Linked DNA regions of Homo sapiens: region 2 is linked to region 1. The links are contacts of gene promoters, found by promoter capture Hi-C in human tissues and cell types (Jung and others, 2019). All regions are on one chromosome and are shown on one strand. Each heading gives the region's core, a stretch centred on a gene start or on the middle of the fragment in contact. The rest is flanking DNA. Distances are from core to core; before and after follow the strand shown.

The links. The method cuts DNA at HindIII sites, captures the fragments that hold promoters and counts their contacts. A contact is called where the count stands out against the background at its distance.
Region 2: a fragment that was not itself captured here is called in contact with the fragment with the promoter of IFT81 in region 1 in 1 of the 25 tissues and cell types used here (aorta).

The regions. Positions count from the first base shown.
Region 1 is chr12:110,121,479-110,129,129 of GRCh38, reverse strand. It overlaps IFT81 (intraflagellar transport 81), which reads right to left and starts at 4,773. Exons shown (of 19, transcript NM_014055.4): 1 at 4,269-4,773; 2 at 1,606-1,770; 3 at 981-1,084; 4 at 1-180. The coding sequence starts at 1,749. RefSeq lists a silencer at 4,690-4,959. The HindIII fragment of the contact is 7,034 bases long and covers 1-6,662 here.
Region 2 is chr12:110,177,060-110,184,710 of GRCh38, reverse strand. It overlaps IFT81 (intraflagellar transport 81), which reads right to left. Exons shown (of 19, transcript NM_014055.4): 12 at 4,140-4,289. Among named protein-coding and RNA genes, the nearest start is that of IFT81, 57 kb to the right of the region's middle. The HindIII fragment of the contact is 3,163 bases long and covers 1,046-4,208 here.

The DNA.
Region 1 (7,651 bases), core at 3,524-6,023:
TGTTTATTGGTGTCAGCCACAGTTTCATCCTGAAGAAACTCACTTGGTACCTCAAGTTTTATTAAAAAACGAGCTAAATATGCTCTTTTCTTCAGTTCATTAGTCCTCTGAAGAAGCCAGTGGAGCACTGGGTAAATTACAGGTTTACTTCCAATCACCAAACCCTGACGAAAAGTACTCCTAAGAGAGAAACACACATACACAAACACACACGCACTTAACGGTAAACTTTGAAGAGAGACAGCATTTTCTCAAAATCTGATTTACAATGTCCAAATTGCTTTCTGTAACTTTTTAAAAAAGATAAACCCAAGGAATCTTTTTTTTTTTTTTTTTTTTTTTTGAGACAGGGTCTCACTTTATTGCCCAGGCTTGAGCACAACGCAGCTCACCAAAGCCTTAACCTCCTGGCTCAGGTGAACCTCCCACCTTAGCCTCCCAAGTAGCTGGGACTAGAGGCACCAACCACCATGCCCAGCTGATTTTTTGTTGTTGTATTTTTTGTAGAGGCAGCGTTTCGCCATGTTGCCCTGGCTGGTCTCAAACTCCTGAGCTCAAGTGATCCTCTCACCTTGGCATCTCAAAGTGCTAGGATTACAGGTGTGAGCTACCATGCCTGGCCCCAAGGCTATTCTAAAGTCAGTCTGTACATTAGTTAGAAAATTAGAAAAATTTGGCCCTCAATATATCATTGGCATATCCAAGGAAGTTGTGTTTAAGCTGTTTTTATCTAGGATGGCAGATAAAGGATAAAATGGTATAGTGGATTTACCAGACAGTTTGATTAAGGCAAAGAACTGACCCTCTTAAGACTTCTGAGTTTGTTTATAGAAGGTTTAAGATTATTTTGAAACTCAGTGATGTTCTCAGGCCATCAAATGAGGGAAACCAGGTATTACCTACAAAGATTGATTGCAGTATATGAAGGTTTGGATATTAAAGCATAATTTTAAAAACTCAATACGTGATCAGATTCTTACATATCTGTGGCATTTCCTGAAGGTTTGTACTTAAGAATACCAAGAAGGCTCAACATTCGTTTGGCTGTCTGCTCTGGCATCTCCTCTCTGATATCCACAAGTTGCTAACAAAGAAATTGAAAAAAACATGTTATTGTTGTATATGTAACAAAGGACAATATTTAAACTCACTGACAAAATTGTTCTGCTAGAGCTTAACAGCACAATGGTCTCTTCATAAAACAGATTAAGGATGGAGGCCCCCAGATTCCAAGTGAGGGTACACCCAAGTCAGATCAAGATTCACATTAAGAATGTTAAGCTTCAAAAAAAGTATCCAGTGGAATGGACCAGTGTATGAGAGACATGAACTAACTTGCAATACAATAAAACCTTTTGTAAAAGAATTTTCATTCCCTAACCAAACCTATTTATGTCTGGAAGTGGATAAATAATTTTGAAATAAGGTACCAATAGATAATTTATTTTTGAGCTAGCAGAGAAATGTTATGCATTATTTACTATTACTTTACAGACATGGAAAATAAAGCTCAGAGAGGTTAAATAATGTGCCCAAGACTCACAGCTATTTAGAGGGAGAAATTGGCTTTCTGCTACCCATCAAAAAGAAAGAGAAAACTCTTACCTTTGGGTCAATCTCAGCCAGAACATCACTGAGAACTTGTAATAGTTGCATTGGCTCCAAGGAATCAAACGTGATTAAATTATAGTTCTTCCTAAAGGGCTCCTTATTGAGACTGTCCATAATGAATTTAATTTGATCACTCATAATTAGGTCTTATAATTTTAACTAAAGAGTAAAAATAGAAAAAAAAATCCTTAATACTGGCAACAAAAGTCCTGGGTAAAAACCAGAATTAAGTTCATACAACGTAGGCATGAAAAGTATAATTTTACATGGCATACAAAATGCTGTGAAAAGGGTTATTTTGTTGAAAGAAATCCAAGTATAATGGCTTTACTATGAAAACTGCAGTATATACTGTTAATTTTAACATCAAATGCTTTGTATATGCATCTGGTGTAACAGTAATCATCTGAGTTAATGTGGACAAATGAATAATAAATCCTCCCTACATTAACATCTCTCCCATACCGGTGCATAATTTCTACCCAGGAATTAAACATGCTCCTAAATTTTAGGAGCCTGACTGCAAGCCTAACAGATGTTTCTCCCAAATCTCCCAAAAAACATTGAGAGATTTTTTACTTTAAAATCTGTATTTCCAGTTTCTCTTGAAAATCAGATCTGGCAACCGTGGGCCCACATTTGTGCATGCCCACAACCAACTGCATCTGAGTAGAGGCTGCACACTTCAAGTACCCTTCTTCCATTTCTGTTATTGGTGTGGCCGGTAGGCATCCACTCTGCCTTCATTTCCTTTGGCCTTCAATGAGGCCACAGCCTCTTGTTCTCTGGTCTCCACCTCTCCCCATTCCAAATCATCTGTATGCTCCTTATTGCGCACAAAATACAGCTCAAACTTCTTGGATTTCCAGACTCTTTATGATCTGGCACAACTTATCCCTTTCCAACTTTATTTCCAAATTGTCATCTTTCTACCCCTTCAAACTTCAGCCTATTGAAACAGTCACTGCTCCTTAGTTTTTCTATCACTCTGCCTTTAGTTAATGTTGCTTTCTCTGCCTAAAATGACTGCGCACCCCTCCTTCATCTCAAGAGGCACAAACCCCCCCAACCATCTTTCAAGCCATGCCCACCAAACGCCAGCTCCCCCAGGAAACCTTTCTCAAGCTATCCTCCAGGTTCTGCAGCAGTGCCAACACCTGTCCTTCATAGCTGACCACACTTTATCTGTGCTTCTCTCCTAGCACTACTTTTGATCTTGTGCTTTTTTTTTTTTTTTTTTTGAGACGGAGTCTCGCTCTGTCGCCCAGGCTGGAGTGCAGTGGCGCGATCTTGGCTCACTGCAAGCTCCGCCTCCCAGGTTCAAGCCATTCTCCTCCCTCAGCCTCCCAAGTAGCTGGGACTACAGGCGCCTGCCAGCACGCCTGGCTAATTTTTTGTATTTTTAGTAGAGACGGGGTTTCACCGTGTTAGCCAGGATGGTCTGGATCTCCTGACCTCGTGATCCGCCCACCTTGGCCTCCCAAAGTGCTGGAATTACAGGCGTGAGCCACCGCGCCTGGCCGATCTTGTGCTAGTTCTTTAGGTACGCATCTTCTCTTCCCTGCTAAACTGTAAATTCCGTATCTGTGTCCAATTCCATTTTTGAACATCCATTGTGTCTAAAACAGTGATTCCTTCCACTAGATTGAATGAACTTGTTCACAGGCACAAGTACAACATAAGCCTAAATCTAAAGGAAATCAGGCTGGCAGTGAGAAAGATCATAACTTTTTAAAAAACTGAATATCTGATTTATTAACTGCTGAAACAGCTTTACCTAGGTAAATGCTTTAAGGATTAAAAATGAATTAAGCAATGAGTTGCTGCCGGGAGCTGTCGTTCTCTCCTGTAATCCCAGTACTTTGGGAGGCCGAGGCAGGCAGATCACTTGAGGTCAGGAGTTCGAGGCCAGCCTGGCCAACATGGTGAAACCCGGTCTCTACTAAAAATACAAAAATTAGCCAGGTGTGGTGGCGGGCGCCGGTAGTCCCAGCTACTTGGGAGGCTGAGGCAGGAGAATTGCTTGAACCCGGGAGGCGGAGGTTGCAGTGAGCCGAGATCGCGCCACTGCACTCCAGCCTGGGGGACAGAGAGAGACTCCGTCTCAACAGAAAAAATAAAATAAAAAAGATAATTTCTCCACAATGATGAAAAATTACGCACAAATAATTATTATTGCTAAGAAATAAGTCAAAAGAGGATAGGAAGGATAACCACCATGGCTTATAATAAATCTGAGGTTTCCTTTAAGCTATAAAAGGAAAACCTTTACGTAAGTTTTTTTTTAAAATCCATATTGGAAGTGCAAGTTTTCCATTGTTTAAAGTATTTTAAGTAAAAGTCCACGTCATAACCTTTGCGTGCAGAAATATGTATTTCATTTTAAATGATTTAGAAATTATCTATAGGTCTACTCTTTTTTCCCTTAAAAAAAAATCTGGATAAACTAGTACAACGTTTCCAGGAAGGCAAAATAAACCAGTTGGGTTCCCCCCAAGTCGCCCACCAGCCTGCAAAAATGGTCACTCGATAAGGACAAAGATGTACTGAACAGGAAGGCTGTCTGTGCCCAGCGGGCTCTGCGCTCTAAAATTAGCAAAAGCAATTACTGTCCCTCTTCTAGCGCGAAGTCGCCGCGCTAATTCCCAAGCACTCACCCACAAACGAGTCGCAGGAGGCGGGGAACAATGAAAACCAGGACGTGCGTGTTCTCTGGCACAATTTGGGAGAGAAACCGTGCTGCCTGGGTCCCAGGCTGGCACGAGCATCGACCCGCAGCCTCCTGGGAGTACCAGAAATAGTGTCCCCCTCCCCGGGCTCGGGACAGGGGACAGGGGACCCCACACCCGACCGGGCCTCTAGCGGGGGCTGCCCTGGGCCCCTCGACAGTTCATCCCTCCAGGGAGCGGCCTGGATCCGCTCGAATCCCAGAAGGGGCCCGATTCCCCTATCCGGGGGCTTAACCGCGACGACCCCTTCCACTTGCGAGGTGCTGCATCAGGACCGAGAGAGGACGGGAGCTCTCTCCTATTTCGGGGTTCAGAGGAGCTTCCGACCGCGAGTTGGCGAGGTTACCTCAAATTCTCCTCACGAAACCGTTTCCCCACCCCCCAGGAGGCGCCCGGGCTCTAGACCGCTCCCAGAGTCGAGCTCCTTGGCAACGGTTGCTAGGCCGTAGAGTTACGTCACTTCCGGGCGAGCGGCCGCTCTCCCGCGCGCGCGCGCACGAGCTGGGGGGCGGGGCCGGGCCAGGGCGGGGAGGACGGGCGCGGGGCGGAGCGGACGGGGCGGGGCGGGGCGGAGCGGACGGGACGGGGCGGGACGGGGCGGGGCGGACGGGGCGGACGGGAGCCGGGCTTACTTGCAAAGCGGGCCCACGTGCTGAGCCACTGCAGACAGCCGAGGGCATTTGGGACTGTTACTCCGACCTAGACGCGCTACAATAAGCTTCCCGAAAGTCCTGCACTTCGCAGTTTACAAAATACTCTCTGCATGATTAACCTATGTTAAATGCGTGTGATGTTTCATTCATTCATTCATTCATGCATGCATGCATGCATTCATGCGCCAAACGTGGGTGATGATTTTTGTTTGTTTTTGAGGCAGGGCTGGGTGGTAGGGGGGTTGGGATGAGCAAGCATTTGGCCAGTGCTTCAAATTTAGGTTTTTGACATAAGTATCTCCAAATTAGGTTATGCATAGGAACAATTGTAGTGAGGCTCTGGCAGGATTAAAAGAAGACACATTCATCATAGAGATTTCAGCTTCTGTGTCACATTACTGGGCCACATTGCCTGTACTGGGAATTAAATTTTTTTAAACCCAATACGTTTTGAGTATGCTGAGAGCCTGAAAGGGGGTGTGGGAGAACTAAGTGTCCTAATGTTCCTTTGGCTTCTGAGTGGGCTCTCTTTAGGTGACTGCAGAAATAAATTAAATCCTCCTTGTGGTCTTCATGGAGTTCACATCCCACGCAGGACGCAGGGAGATCTTTGTGCCCAGTCACTGATGAGGTTTAAAAGTCTACTGGAATTTGCACTAGCTGGTTTGTGGGAGACCTTAGTTGGCAAATGGTATTTTGAACCAACCTCTATTAGACTAGAGACCACGATACTTAGTGATATCAGCTGGCAATGAAAGAAAGAGAAGGAAAAAAAATCAAATTATTGATACCTTGAAAACTTAGTTGCCTGCTCAAACAGCATAGGAGAAACCAACTATAGCTTTAGCATCAGACTTACCACAACAAAAAATAACAGATTACGTATTAGGCATTTCCTATATGCCCTGTACTGTACAGGCTGCTGGAAATGCAGAAGGGCAGGACTTACCTGGCCCCTGCCCTGATGGAGCTGACAGTCTAGTGCCGGCAGAGATTATTAAAGGGGCAACACCAATACAATTGAGATAAATGCTGTAACAAGAGAAGCCAATGATTAGGAGCCCAGATTAAGGGCCTCAAGTTTATTTGGGGAGGGTGGTGCCAAAGGGGCCATACCATCAGGAAAGTTTCTGTCAAATGGAGTGATGTTTAAGGATCAGTAAAAATTAGGCCTGGCACCGTGGCTCACGCCTGTAATCTCAGCACTTTGAGAGACCAAGGCAACAAGATAACTTTGAGCCCAGGAGTTCAGGATCAGCCTGGGTAACAGAGCAAGACCCTTTCTCTACAAAAAATTAAAAGCAAAAATTGGTCAGGGGTGGCACCATTGCACTCCAGGCTGGGCAACAGAAGGAGACCCCCATCTCTTAAAAAGGATCAGTAAAAATTAGCCAAACAGGAAAAGGGAGAGTGTTTTGGGCAGAGGCAACACAACATTCCAAGACCAGTCCCTTTGTTGGCTGCCCTCTGACTGTTGAAATATCAAGCGTAGGTACCCTGCAGGGCTCCTGGAGAGAAACTAAAACTGGCCCCACCCCACAACCAATTAGGGGAAGCAACACTCAAAACCTCAAAGAATTAAATAACTTACATAATACTGACAGAAACAATACAAGATTTGTAGAAGGGATTATATAATTCATTGATCCTGTTGGGTGTGTTAGGAGACATCCCTGGCTACCTGGGTTTGAATTCTGCATCTGCCATTGTGTACCCTCTCTTTATCTTGCTAAACTTTCCTCATCTGTAAAACGTGGCTATAATAAAACCTTCCTCAATAGGGTTGACATGAGGATTAAGGGAGTTGATACAGGTAAAGTGATTACAACAGTGCCCAACATTGGGAGGCACTGAAGACATTTATGTTTTTTCTTTTTAAAAAAATGAGGCATGTACATGGTGGCTCATGCCTGTAATCTCAGCACTTTGGGAGGCTGAGGTGGGAGGACAGTCTTAGCCCAGGAGTTCAAGTCCAGCCTGAGCAACAGTGAGACCCCATCTTTAAAAAAAGAAAAGAAAAAAGAAAAAAAAAAGAAGTAAAAGAATTTTTTGAATAAAACTTTAAAAATAAGATGGTTTGCCAGACACAATGGCTCATGCCTGTAATCCCAGCACTTTGGGAGGCTGAGATGGGCCGATCACTTGAGGTCAGGAGTTCAAGACCAGCCTGGCCAACAAGGTGAAACCTCATCTCTATCAAAAATACAAAAATTAACTGGGTGCGGTGGTGCATGCCTGTAATCCCAGCTACGTGGGAGGCTGAGGCAGGAGAATCACTTGAACTTGGGAGGCAGAGGTTGCAGTGAGCGAAGATCACGCCATTGCACTCCAGCCTGGGCAACAGAGTGAGACTCTGTCTCAAAAAAAAAAAAAAAAAGAAAAGAAAAGAAAAAAGAAAAAGTAAAGAAAAGAAAAAAGAAAAAAAAAAGATGGTTAGATTTGCACCTTCTATAGGGTTTATGGGTATAGGCTATAGAAATCCTAGATAGGAGTGGTTTATCTAATAGCTTTTAGTTCCTCCTCTCTCTGTTGCCCCTGGTCTACAAACACTATACCTTTCAGTTATGAGACTGCAATCCTGTATAAATTCAAATAAGCAAGAGGATCCACTCTTTGGACTCAAACTTGAATAGATTTTATGCTTAATATGGTTGCTCT
Region 2 (7,651 bases), core at 1,378-3,877, 58 kb before region 1:
TTGAAGTTTGAGGCTATTTCTACCCAATCTTCCTTTGCCCTTTCCTTTCACAGGTGTCAGACCTGTATCAGAGCCTGAAGGCTTTCCCTGCCTCCTCCTGCTCCCTTCCCTTTACCCTTCATAAGTATGTCCTTCAATAAATCTTTTGTACATGTAATCCCATCTCAGTGTCTGCTTCTTGGAGGATCTGAACTGATACAAAGATGCACTAGACGGTGTAATGTTTCTGGCATTTGAGGAGAAATAGTAACTATAAGGACTATGGAACTGGGGTGGCTATCACTAAACTCCACTGATGGTTGAAGAGATAAAATAACAGGCTCAAATCCATTAATTTGTAATTTATTTATTTATTTTTTTTGAGATGGAGTCTCGCTCTGTCACCCAGGCTGGAGTCCAGTGGCATGATCTCGGCTCACTGCAAGCTCTGCCTCCGGGGTTCACGCCATTCTCCTGCCTCAGCCTCCCGAGTGGCTGGGACTACAGGTGCCCGCCACCACGCCCGGATAATTTTTTGCATTTTTAGTAAATACAGGGTTTCACCGTGTTAGCCAAGATGGTCTCGATCTCCTGACCTCGTGATCCACCCGCCTCGGCCTCCCAAAGTGCTGGGATTACAGGCGTGAGCCACCATGCCTAGCCTAATTTGTAATTTAAAGCAAAGTGATCAAGTTAGAGAACCTCCTTAAGGGCTTTAAAGAAACTCTCATTTCCCCTGGCTAAAGTGCAGAGGGAGCTGAAAACCAGGCACAGGACTAATTTTAAGACTGGCAAAACTCCAGAGAAAGTTGAATTCTTAGTCTAGGCAAATATTCTATGCCAAAGTCAGGGCCCTGACAGAGAAGAAAAAGGGTGCTGAGTCTGGGATGGGGGTATCTGGATAGACCCACTTGAGAACCTTGAATCCCCAGATTATCCTGTATCCTCTGGGCAGTGGCAAATGGCTCAGCTTGTTGGTCAAGGCCCTGGAAGATGCAAGACAGCAAGGACAAGGAGGTCTAGGAAAGAGGCATGTGTTTGAACCTATGGGAGTAGGCACTAAGTATAATGATCTTTTCATTACATGGAAACCGGAAAATGTCCACTGCAGAAGATGCACTGAACAACCAAGTGGAAAGGATGATTTGGCCAGCAGATGTCAGCCAGCCTCTGACATTGGCCCACACAGTGCTTAAACAATGGACTCACAAACAGAATGGCTTTGTTGGTAGAGATGGAAGTTACGTATGAGCCAAATAGCATGGGCTCTCTCTCATCAATGCTCATCTAGCTGCTGCCAATATCAAACGTCTGACCTGCCAGCAACAGAGACCATTCCTGAGCTCTGGGTAAGGAATCATCCCTTGAGGAAACCAACCCCCTATTTTGTGGCAATTTAATAACATCGGACCCTTTCTGCCCTGAAAAAGGTGACATTTCATCCTTAATGGGACTGATCCATATTCTGAGTATAGGTTTGCCTTTCTTGCCCATTGTACTTCAGCCAGCACTACTATCCAAGGGCTAAGAGCATTCAGTCTACTGATGTGGAATCTCACATAATATCACCTCAAACCAAGGGACACACTTTACAGCAAAGGAAGTATGATAGCATTCGTATGACCATATAATTCAGTAATTTTACCACATACTACACTATCTGGAAAGCTGATGGCCTGACAGAATAGTGGAACAGTGTCTTAAACGTAAGGCCCCAGTTGGAACTGGATGGCCTATGAAAATGAGTTCTACCTTTAGGATGGGGTGTACACCTTAAACCGATGCCCATGATATGGTGCTATGTTCCCGATAGAAAGCATAGGTCTCAGAACCATGAGATGAAAGTATAGGTGTCACCACGAACCATGATCCCCAGTGATCCACTTTAGGGAATTATGCTTCCCTTCCAGACAACTGTAGGCTCTGTGGGTATAGATACTCTGGTTGCCAGAGATATTCTGATGGCATGCTTCCATCAGAAGGCACATTAAGAGGCCCTTGACACTTAATGTTCTGACTACCATCTGGTCACTTGAGCTTCTCATGTCAATAGATCAGCAGGCAAAGAAAGCAGGGTATCATAAGGCTATATAGATGCTGCTATATAACAGGGACAGAAAGAAATATATTTAGGACTCAGATGATCCATTAGGGCATATCTTGGTACTCCCATGCCCAGTTTTAACTGTAAATGGGGAAGTATAGCAGCCATGGCCTGGTAAGGGCATGATTACTAGAGTCTCACACTTCTCAAGGATGAGGAACTGGGTCATCCCACCAAGTAAGTCATCTAAACCAGAGGAGGTACTAGCTGAGGTGAGGGAACTCTAGAATGGATAGTAAAGGAAGGAGATGTTGAATATCAGTTATGTCCTTGGAACCAAATGTAGCAATGAGAGTTTCCATTTGTCCCACTAATCTTTCTCCTATAAGTTTTCCTAGAAATTGCGACCAACTAGAATCCTATAGAAGCTATAGCTGGGTGGAGTAAATTTAATGTGACAAACAAGTAGATCCTACTAGTGCAAGGGGTGAACTGTAGTAGATGTTGCTGGTGCCCCACTCAGACCTCATTTGCAAACTGTTATGAATGTTGACTGCTAAATAGCTCATAGTTACCCCTTTCTCCAGAGAGTGCCCTCAGCGAAATGGGAGGTGTCTCACCTAAGAGGTTACACTTGACCACAGCCAAATGACTGACTGCCATGGGGTACAAAAGGCCAGCCCCCTTGCATCAAGATGGAATCAACTCCAGTGCAATTTGTTCCAAAGTTGATCATGGGATCAGAATGAAGCCAGCTCCAGTTGAGACCATGTCCTTTTCTTGCTTGGCTTTTTTCTGCTGCCTCATCTGCTTCCCTCACTCCCCTCCTTCTGAAGGTACTCCCTCAATAAATCACTAGCACAAAGAATTCCCTTCTCGAGCTCTGCTTCTAGGGACCCAACTTAAGAAAAAAATATGAAGCAAAAACTGATGGAACTAAAAAAAGCAACAAAGCCATAATTATAGTTAGAGATTTTTAACACACTTCTCTCAGTAACTGATGGAACAGGCAGACAAAAAATCAACAGGGATATGGAAGATGTGAATATCATGGCTAACATACTGACTGAATTGACATATTTAGAATACTATTCCCAACAACTGCAGAATATACATTCTCTTCACTGCACATGAAACAATTACCAAAACAGACCGTATGCTGGGCCATAATGCAAGACTACAAATTTCACAGGACTGAAATCAGAGTGTGCTCTCTGGTCACAATGGAAATAACCTGGAAATTCATAATAGAAAGGTAACTAGAAAAATCCCCCAAATATTGGATTTTAAGCCATGACCAAAAGGTCAAAGAAATCACAATAGAAATTAGAAGATATTTTGAAGTAAACAATAATGCAGTTACTACTATCAGTTTTAAAGTTAGTGCTGTTAGAATCCATGTTGATTCACAGTAAATTTTCAGTCTTAAGTTCCCTAAAAGCAAATAATATTCATCAGCATGAGACAGTTCATATTGCCAGTTAAAAGGAAACACAACTGGTTGAAATTCCACTTACTTCTACCAGATTATTGCTAGCTGGTAAACCAGCACCCAGATGAAAGTTTCCTCGTTGGTGAAAGAAAAAAAAAAGCCAAATGAAGGAAACCCTGAGGAACTGGCATCCACAATGAGAACAACTTTGCTGTGGGACTACTTTGGGTTTAACTTTTTTCAGACAACCAAGGCACAAACACATAAGGAATAAGCCTGGAGGCAGACTTCCACACAGCACTTCCCTGGATATTTCTTTCCAAAGCTTCTTGGAAGTGGCTGCTTAGAAATTTCTGCCCAGCAGGCCATGATAAAAAAATATTTTACAGTCACTCTCTTGGTATGATAATTTTACTCATATTAACTAACTAACCAAAAGAAAAAACCTACTTGGAATTCAAGTTTTTCTATTAATAACCCCGAAGTCAGCACACACACAAAAGCCAGTGCTTACTGCTACATTAAAAATAAATGAATCAACTTATATGTCATGTCTGTAATTAATCAGAGAAAAGTAATACTTTTATCATTTTTCCAGTAAAAACAATGACTTCAGTATAAAGCTGTAACCCATAAACCTCCTGGCATTTGTATTTATAGTAGCCCAAGATAATACTGTATTACCAGTTGTTGTTGAATATTTTCATGACGTTGCTTAAGAAGTTCTTCAGTCCTCTGCAAAAGACCGAATTCAGCTTTAAGTTCAGCTATTATCTGATGCTTCTTTTTGAAAACTGTACTCTTGCTTCGAAGTTTATTGACATATCGTTTGAACTGTAAAAAAAACACAATATGTAATCTAATGAGTAGAAAAGTAGTAGCTAAATATCATACATCTGTATAAACTCAATATATTCACATTTTTTCTTCTCTACTTCCCAACATGTCACACGTATATAATAATTTCGTTTTATTAGAAAACTTTATATAATAATTATATATTATATAATAACTTAATAATTTAGTTTTATTATAAAACTTCCCAACCCCCATCTTCCTGTCTTCATCCCTAACCAGGTTAAACTCCTGTTACTTATTTGCAGGGCCTATTCAGTTATGTGTAATGTTTGCCATCATTTTAAACTTCAGTTCAGTATTTGTTTTCCCCACTATTCCTTAAGCTTGATGAGGGCAGGACCTGCAAGTATCTTGCTCTAAGCAACTCTACGTTGTATCCTCTGTGTCTGGCACAGTGCCTAATACATAACAGATAATAAATAGTACTTACCAAATGAATTCCTTTATTTATTTATTTGTTTGAGACCAAATCTCACTCTGTCACCCACAATGTTTAAATATTTTGTGTTTTTAATTTTTTGACCCATTATATGTACATATATTATATATATATATTATGTGTATATGTTTAATATATGTATACATATAAAATGTGTGTGTGTGTGTGTGTGTGTGTGTGTGTGTATATATATATATATATATATATATATATATATATATATATATATATATAATTTCGAGATAGGGTTTGCTCTGTTGCCCAGGCTGGAGTGCAGTGGTGTGATAACAGTTCATTGCAGCCTTAACCTCCTGGGATCAAGCAATTCTCCTGCCTCAGCCTCCAGAGTAGGAGGACCACAGGTGCAGAGCACCACGCCTGGCTAATTTTTGCATTTTTTGTAAAGATGGGGTTTCCCTATGTTGCCCAGGCTGGTTTTGAACTCCTCAGCTCAAGTGATTCACCCGCCTTGGCCTCCCAAAGTGCTGGGATTACAGGCATGAGTCACCGTGCCTGGCCTTAAAATATTCTAAATCCTTATATAAAAGCTATTCATTTTAGACTTTACAAATAAGGATTAGGAAAACAGAAAGACAACCTTATAAAAATAAAAAGGTCAAAAAAGAAGAAAAAGTAGGAGATTAATGACCACAATTCTGGTTGTGGTTTTATCATGGTATATCTCATGTACTGTACTATTTTGGTAGCAGTCCATTGGACTACTGGGACTAATATAGCCAACCGGAACCATCAACACTTGTAGCTACTATTTATCACTTAAGAAATGTACTGTGACTATATATTGCTATCAAGCATCTGAGACACTGGGATGGTACCCATCGAAATGTTAAAAAGCTAAGAATATCCCAAGTTAGTGAAGACTCATAGCTATCTAATTTATCTATTTACCTACCCATCATATCAAAGTTATAACTAATAATGGAAAAAAGTTACAACTCTAATGGAAAGACCCCATTATTAAGTAATACCAACTAGAGTTTGGAAGAGCAAACAAAGTAGCATAATATTTAAAGGAATTCAAGGCTGGATGTGGTGGCTCACGCCTATAATCCTAACACTTTGGGAGGCCAAGACAGTTAGATCACTTGAGGTTAGGAGTTCCAAACCAGCCTGGCCAACATGGTGAAACCCCATCTCTACTAAAAATACAAAAAATTAGCCGGGCGTAGTGGCATGTGCCTGTAGTCCCAGCTACTCAGGAGGCTGAGGCAGGAGAATTGCTTGAACCCGGGAGGCGGAGGTTGCAGTGAGCCGAGATCACGCCACTGCACTCCAGCCTGGGCGACAGAGTGAGACTCCATCTCAAAAAAAAAAAAGAATCTTAGCCTTTTTAATGTCCAGTGCTTCTTAAAGCTAATTTTGGGGGATAGTTAATAAATAATTTTATAAATAATAAAAGTAATGAACATATTGTTGAAATTTTGGAAAACAGAAAAAAGGAAAAGTTCACTCAAAGCCACTATCTCAACACAAGCTCTATTACCATATTGGTATTTTTCTTTCTTTCTTTTTTTTTTTTTTTTGAGATGGAGTCTTGCTCTTGTCTCTAAGGCTGGAGTGCAGCCGCACAATCTCCCCTCACTGCAACCTCCACCTCACAGGTTCAAGCAAATCTCCTGCCTCAGCCTCCCAAGTAGCTGGGATTACAGGTGCCTGCTACCATGCCAGGCTAATTTTTGTATTTTTAGTAGAGACGGGGTTTCACCATGTTGGCCAGGCTGGTCTTGAACTCCTGACGTCAGGTCATCTGCCCACCTTGGCCTCCCAAAGTGCTGGGATTACAGGCATGAGCAACTGTGCCCAGCCCACATTGATATTTTTCCTTCCAATTTTTTTTTTCTTTGAGACAGAGTCTCGCTCTGTCACCTAGGCTGGAGTACAGTGGCGCAATCTTGGCTCACTGCAGCCTCTGCCTCCAGGGTTCTAGCAATTTTCCTGCCTCGGCCTCCCGGGTAGCTGGGATTACAGGCACACGCCACCATGCCTGGCTAATTTTTGTATTTTTAGTAGAGATGGGGTTTCACCATGTTGGCCAGGCTGGTCTTGAACTCCTGACCTCAGGTGATCCGCCCACCTTGGCCTCCCAAAGTGCTAGGATTACAGGCATGAGCCACTGCGCCCGGCTTTTCCTTCCAATTTTGAAAGCAAATTCTAAGGTTAATAATTCTAAATTATAAAGTAGTGAAATAGAAAGTACACCATCTCTAAAATTTAATTTTTTTCTAAAATACTTGATTCCTGAGTATACAAAAATTCCTTTAAAATACTAAGATTAAAAATTCTTCACGTTAAAATAAACTTCCAATTCCTAGTTTAGACATCTTTTAAAATTTGACTTAAACTTTGAAAGAGCTGGTCAGGTGCGGTGGCTCATACCTGTAATCCTAGCACTTTGGGAGGCTGAGGTGGGGGGACTGCGTGAGCTCAGGAGTTTGAGACCAGCCTGGCCAGTATGGCCAAACTCCGTCCCTACTAAAAATACAAAAAATAAGCTGGGCGTGGTGGTGTGTGCCCGTAATCCCAGCTACTAGGGAGGCTGAGGCATGAGAATTGCTTGAACCTGGGAAGCAGAGGTTGCAGTGAGCCGAGATTGTGCCACTGCACTCCAGCCTGAGCGACAGAGCGAGATTCTGTCTCAAACAAAACAAAACAAAACAAAACAAAACAAAAAAACAAACTTTGAAAGAACTGAGGAACACACTGTGTTTTAGAAGAAGAAAGTTTAAAATATTTTTCTATCCATGATTAGGTTAGTTTTAATATTAAGGAATCCAGCCCTCACACCACAAATTTTCAATGACTGCGTTACAGAAACTTCTTTAAAAATTAAAAATTTAAGTCATACTAATGTACCTGAAGTCTAATAACTTGCAAATTT